2 separate regions of the Homo sapiens genome follow, and region 2 is linked to region 1. Evidence: promoter capture Hi-C in 16 types of primary human blood cells and fetal thymus (Javierre and others, 2016). All regions are on one chromosome and are shown on one strand. The core of a region is centred on a gene start or on the middle of the fragment in contact, and the rest is flanking DNA. Distances in the headings are between cores, read along the strand shown. Region 1 holds the start of CTRL (chymotrypsin like). Region 2 holds the start of TMEM208 (transmembrane protein 208).

Region 1 (2,700 bases), core at 185-2,684:
CAGCCGGTGGTGACACACGTGAGGCCTTCAGTCAGAGCCTCGTTTGAGGATGCCAGGCAAACTGGCGAGATGCGTGTTGTGTACTGGGCTGGCGAGGCGAGCTTCAGCAGCGTCACGTCATTGTTCATGGTGGTAGAGTTCCAGCTAGGGTGTGTAATGGCCTGTGGGGTCAGAAACAGTCCATGTTCTGATGGGTGCTGAGCAGGGTAGGCCAGGGCATGTCCTGAATTCCTCGTTCCCAGCACCCACCCACCTGCACTGCCCACTTTTCCTCCGTGTCTGCAGCCCAGGCACTCACCCGAGAGACGGACAGAACCTGCAAGGGCTCTGCGTTTGATGATCGGTCATACTCGCCCAGGACAACAAAATGGCGGCCAGGGCTGCAAGGGGGTGGGATTAGGCAGCTGCAGGGAGGCCAGCGCGAGAGGGGGACAGCCAGGGGAGGAGGCAGGAAGAGGCGAGGGGCGGGGCAGGTGGAATGCAGGCACTCACCTGACATTGCAGTGGGCAGCAGTGACCACCCAGGACTGGCTGATGAGAGAACCACCGCAGAAGTGGAAGCCGCTGCTGTCCTGTGGTCAGGGCTCAGAGGTCAGAGTGGGGGTGGGCTGCTGAGGCTGCCCCTAGGCATGACGTACCCAGGACCCTGCCCACCCCTCTGGTGGTGTACCTGCAGGGACACCTGCCAGGGCCAGGAGCCCAACACTGCATTCTCCCCGTTGACAATCCTCTGGCTGAAGCTCAGTGCCGGTTTGATGGCAGGAATGCCGCAGCCTGGCCATTGGGCTAATGAGGACCTGCTTCCCATGCCTCAGCCCATCTTTCCCCACCTCCTTTTGGGTGCCCCAGGCTGTGCACCCCAGAGAGGTCTGTCGAGAGGGTACAGCACTACCCCTTCCCCAACAGGGTACATGCAAGCACCTTCGGGCCCCACAGCTATCTTGGTTATCCCTATCCACCCAGTCCCCCAGCCCTGCTGTTCTCCTACATCTGTCTCCAGCCTAGTCCCCGCTGTTCCCCATCTCTACCCCTGGTCTCTCTGCCCCCTCCCGACCTGAACAGTTCATACCCTTCATGCAGCCAGAAGGTTCTTTCTAAAAGACATGGACAGGTCTTCCTGTCTCAGCTTCCTAAACCCTCCCGGGCTCCAGGGCCTGGCTCAATCTCTGGTCCTATTTGTGAGACCACCCCACCTCTTGCCCCCTCCCAGCCCTGCAGGCCTGTTCCCTGCTCCACTGCCCTGGCATATCCTGTTTCTTTTGCCCACTCTGTCCACCTTCGTCCCTTCCAGCCAGCCTAGCTCCTTCCCTGGGCTGTTGCTGGGAGCTGAGTTGCTCCCAGGGCTGAATCAGGGCTGGTCCTGGCCCACTCACCCCAGGAGGAGCCGAGGAGAACCAGGCTTAGGGTCAGGCTGAGCAGCAACATCGTGGCAGATGTGAGGTTGGGAGCTGGGTCTGGCTTTATGGGTCTTCTCGTCCTTGAGCTAAAGCTCCAGGCCTGAGGCCAGGCCAGCTGTGTAGACTCAGCCCCCTCCCACGCTCCAGGCAAGACAGGCCCTTTAGGCCAAGGTCCCCTGACCGAGACCTAGACTTATCAGACAGAGCCCAGGTGTGAGACTCACCTCTGCCACCTCCCAAAGCCTGGCCTCTAATTGGCTCCCAGAACCACCTCCCATTCCAAATGTTGAGCCCTCGGTACTGAGGACAGATGGTTAAATTAGGTCTATAGTGACAACCTGGTGGCTGGGATCACAGGAGTCACCCAGGGCTAACAAAGGCACCAGGCTTTCAGAGAAGGCCGCTCAGCGTCCAGGGTGTTCTGACTGGTGGATGGAATGCTCACTGCGGTCAACTTTGCTGTGAAGGGCCAGGGGCTGTGAGGTTCTGGCAGGCTGGGAGTCCTAACACATCATCGCAGTGGTTCCTCGTCCATTTGGAACAGGAGTCACAGGTCTGCTCAGAGATGGTGACTCTCCCACCAGCACGTGGTTGAGTTGTACACAAACTCGCATTTGTCTGGCGCTGAAGCCTCCGCTCTTAACAATGAGATGATACTTATGAAGGGCCTGGCATTTAGGAGGGCAAAGTGTGAGCTCTTGGTGCCTGGCCGACCGTGGACTGAGGCTGCAGGTGGAGAGTGACAGACATCAAATCTCTGCCACCCTCTTTAGGCCTTGGGGCTCCCATGGGCAAGCCCCTGGTGTCTGTAGCCCATTTGTTACTGAGCTGCAGACCAAGCTTGAAGGGAGAAGACACCCTGTGTGCAAAGTTCCAACAGGTGCATTGGCTGGCGGCCTTCTGGGAGTGTGAGGGCTTTAACTGATTCAAGAACAGATCAGGGCTGGGTGTGGTGGCTCACACCTGTAATCCCAAAACTTTGGGAGGCAGACGTAGGAGGCTTGATTCCAGGAGTTCGAGACCAGCCTGAGCAACATCATGAAACCCTGTCTCTACAAAAAAAATTTTTTTAAATTAAGAAATGAGCTGGGTATGATGGTACACACCTGTAGTCCCAGCAACTCAGAAGGCTGAGGCAGGAGGGATCACTTGAGCCCTTAAGTTCAAGGCTGCAGTGAGCCATGAGTGCACCACTGCATTCCGGCCTGGGCGATGGAGCTAGACCCCATCTCAAAGAAACAGCATCAGCCAAAAAATGAGATGAATTGGCTGGGCACGGTGGCTCACGCCTGTAATCCCAGCA
Region 2 (2,700 bases), core at 163-2,662, 700 kb before region 1:
TTCACCAAGAGTATGCTCAGGGAAGGGGTCGGGGAAATAAAGCAGTCATTACTGAGAGGACAATGACTGGCAGAATAGACTTCTGGGCCAGGAAGGGAGGCATAGGGAAGACAGTATTGATGGGGACTGGGACTGACCAAGTCCCAATCCCTCCAGGGAGGCACGGAAGCCTGTTTGAGCTGAGTTAAGACAGTGGCCATCCTGTCTTCTGGGGCTAAGCAGCCAGCCCAAGAGCAAAGGGAGAGGGGAACAAACCTGTCATCCCTTGGGGTGAGTCGGGAAGGGACACAATTCATTGACCTAAGAAGAGGGTGGCCTTTCTAGAGGGACAAGAGGAGGCAGTGATGAGGATGGAGTGACCATCCCATGAGTCCCATCTCAAGGGGGCTACTGGAGATAATGATTGGTCACTCATGGGGTCTATGGGGATGGAAATAGATAGCCCCTAAAGCTAAGGGGGAAAGGGATAGCACTGCAAGCTCAATAGGGGTGGGAACAGGCCTATTTTTGCTAAGGACAGGAGCATCATTCCAGGACCGATGGGAAAGGGTGGCCTGTTTCCCATGGGCAGAGAGAGGGGGCTGCCAACCCTCAGGACAAAAGAGATGGAGAAGCCATTCCAACAGGCCACTGAAGACAAAACCTGTTATCTCCCTGGCAGATGGGGCAGAGTGGTCTTGCCCCTGGCTAAGGGGAAGGAGCAAACATCCCACGGAGTGAAAGAGGTAAGGGCGGCCATCACTAGGGGCCTAGGAATGGGGAACAGGCCTATCCTTGTTAAAGGAACTCAGAGATCATTGCAGTTGATGGGGAGGGAGCAGTCTGTTTCCCACTGCCAGGGAGAAGGGGCGGCCGTCTCTGTAGGAAATGGAGAGATCATCCCAAGGGACCAATGGGGATAAGATCAGTTACCCTTCGGGACGATGAGATGGAGCGGACATCTTCCAGAACTGAGCGGGGAGGAGACAGCCACTTCAAGGGAAGGGGATGGGCAGAGGGCCTGTTCTCGCGGAGATGACAGGGCAGCTATCTTCTGGGGCCGATAGGGAAGGGGAGGACGGTCCCCCAAGCTAAAGGGACAGAGTGGCCCAAAGGAGGAACCGTTACCCAGAGCTAGAAGGTCCCGGGATCGGGAGGGCGGGTCGTTTCCGCCAGGCTGGAGGGGCCGGGCTAGCTATCTGACAGCCCCTCCCCAAAGCTCAGGACCGCGAGGGCGGGGCCTGTCCAGAGCTAGGCCTGAGGGCGGCTTCCTCTCACCTCCAGGGGCAGCGACTCCGCCATCGCATCCCTGCCGCCTCCGCCCCCACTGCGCAAGGCTTTCTGGGAAATGTAGTCTCGCCTCTTTGGGGCGGGGCTTGGGAAGGAAGTGAGACCTATTTCCGTCGCAAAAGCTGACGACTTCGGTCTGCGCCGGAAGTGCATGAGCTGCCGATGTGGTGCTTAGTGATTGCGGTTTCGGTCGCTCTCCCGTGTTTCCCGGGCTGGGTATTTGCCTCGCACCATGGCGGTAAGGAGGATGGATAGGGCGGGGTCCGCACCAGCAAAGCTCTCCAGGGGCTGTGAGAGTGAAAACTGAGAAAGAACATTAAGGGATATGGGGTGGGCCAGAGCGGGGCGCCATCCCTGGCCAGACCGTGCTAGAGCTGGGCTGGGGGGATGGCGGCGCAGGACCATACCAGGACTAGTGCCAGAGCGGGGTGGGCATCAGTACCAGGGCAGGCCAGAGATCTAAGTGACCTGAGGTGGGGGTTAACCCAGATCGGGACTACGCCAGCGGAGGCCTGAGAGAGGCACCATTCAACTCCGCTCAGGAGTACCCTTGGAAGAGTCGTTAGCCTAAAGCCAGACTACCACGGGATCCAGAGGCGGTATTAGCTTAGGATTGAATTGTTCCAGGGCGAGCAAGAGGCGATTGATCCTAGCTGCGGGTGCTGGAGAGATGGCGTCAGCCCTAGGCAGAATGGACTGGAGGATGGGTGGACATCCCAGGGATTTTGCTAGGTTTCTGCACTACGGGGACCTGGCTGAGTTGCGGATGGAGCTCTATAGCTCACCAGGCTGGTGGGGAGAATGAGGAGGACCGTGGCCTCCTGACGGCATCTCATCATTCCTCTGCAGCCCAAGGGCAAAGTGGGCACGAGAGGGAAGAAGCAGATATTTGAAGAGAACAGAGAGACTCTGAAGTTCTACCTGCGGATCATACTGGGGGCCAATGTAAGTGCCTACCTCCTTGCTTCTATGCCCACTTATAGTCAGTTCCCTAGTCCTCAGCCCTGCTTGGTGACGAGGAGTGGTACCCGAAAAAGCTCTAGAAGAGAGCTCCAGTCAAAAAGAAATGAGAGATCTGGGCACAGAGAAAGTGCTAACTAGTAAAACACAAAGAAAATGAAGGCGTGAGTCGTAGCTGAATTTGAGAGCTCTTCCTACCTCCAAGTACACAAAGGCTTCTTTCCTGGGCTGAGTTGGGTGTCAGAGGAGAGTGGGTATTTGGGATTCAGGGAGCAGGGCCCTTTCTTCAACCCTGTAAGAACAACCTTGCTCCTCCCACAGCCTGGCCTAATTCTTGGTCAGAGTTGAGGGAGACCCATGGTTTGGAGGTAACTTCTGACCCCAACCTGATCCTGTGATTGCTTGCAGGCCATTTACTGCCTTGTGACGTTGGTCTTCTTTTACTCATCTGCCTCATTTTGGGCCTGGGTA

The links. Contacts are between HindIII fragments. The CHiCAGO score rates a contact against its expected background, and 5 or more counts as called.
Region 2: a contact is called between the fragment with the promoter of TMEM208 here and the fragment with the promoter of CTRL in region 1, in 2 of 17 cell types (neutrophils and total B cells). The highest score is 6.0, in neutrophils.

Annotation. Positions count from the first base shown.
Region 1 is chr16:67,930,428-67,933,127 of GRCh38, forward strand. It overlaps CTRL (chymotrypsin like), which reads right to left and starts at 1,435. Exons shown (of 7, transcript NM_001907.3): 1 at 1,374-1,435; 2 at 671-774; 3 at 493-572; 4 at 299-380; 5 at 1-161. The coding sequence starts at 1,425. RefSeq lists enhancers at 1-409, 410-926. The HindIII fragment of the contact is 4,510 bases long and covers 1-2,235 here.
Region 2 is chr16:67,225,718-67,228,417 of GRCh38, forward strand. It overlaps TMEM208 (transmembrane protein 208), which reads left to right and starts at 1,413. Exons shown (of 6, transcript NM_014187.4): 1 at 1,413-1,507; 2 at 2,119-2,214; 3 at 2,638-2,697. The coding sequence starts at 1,502. It also overlaps the pseudogene FBXL9P. RefSeq lists an enhancer at 1,216-1,565. The HindIII fragment of the contact is 11,037 bases long and covers 1-2,700 here.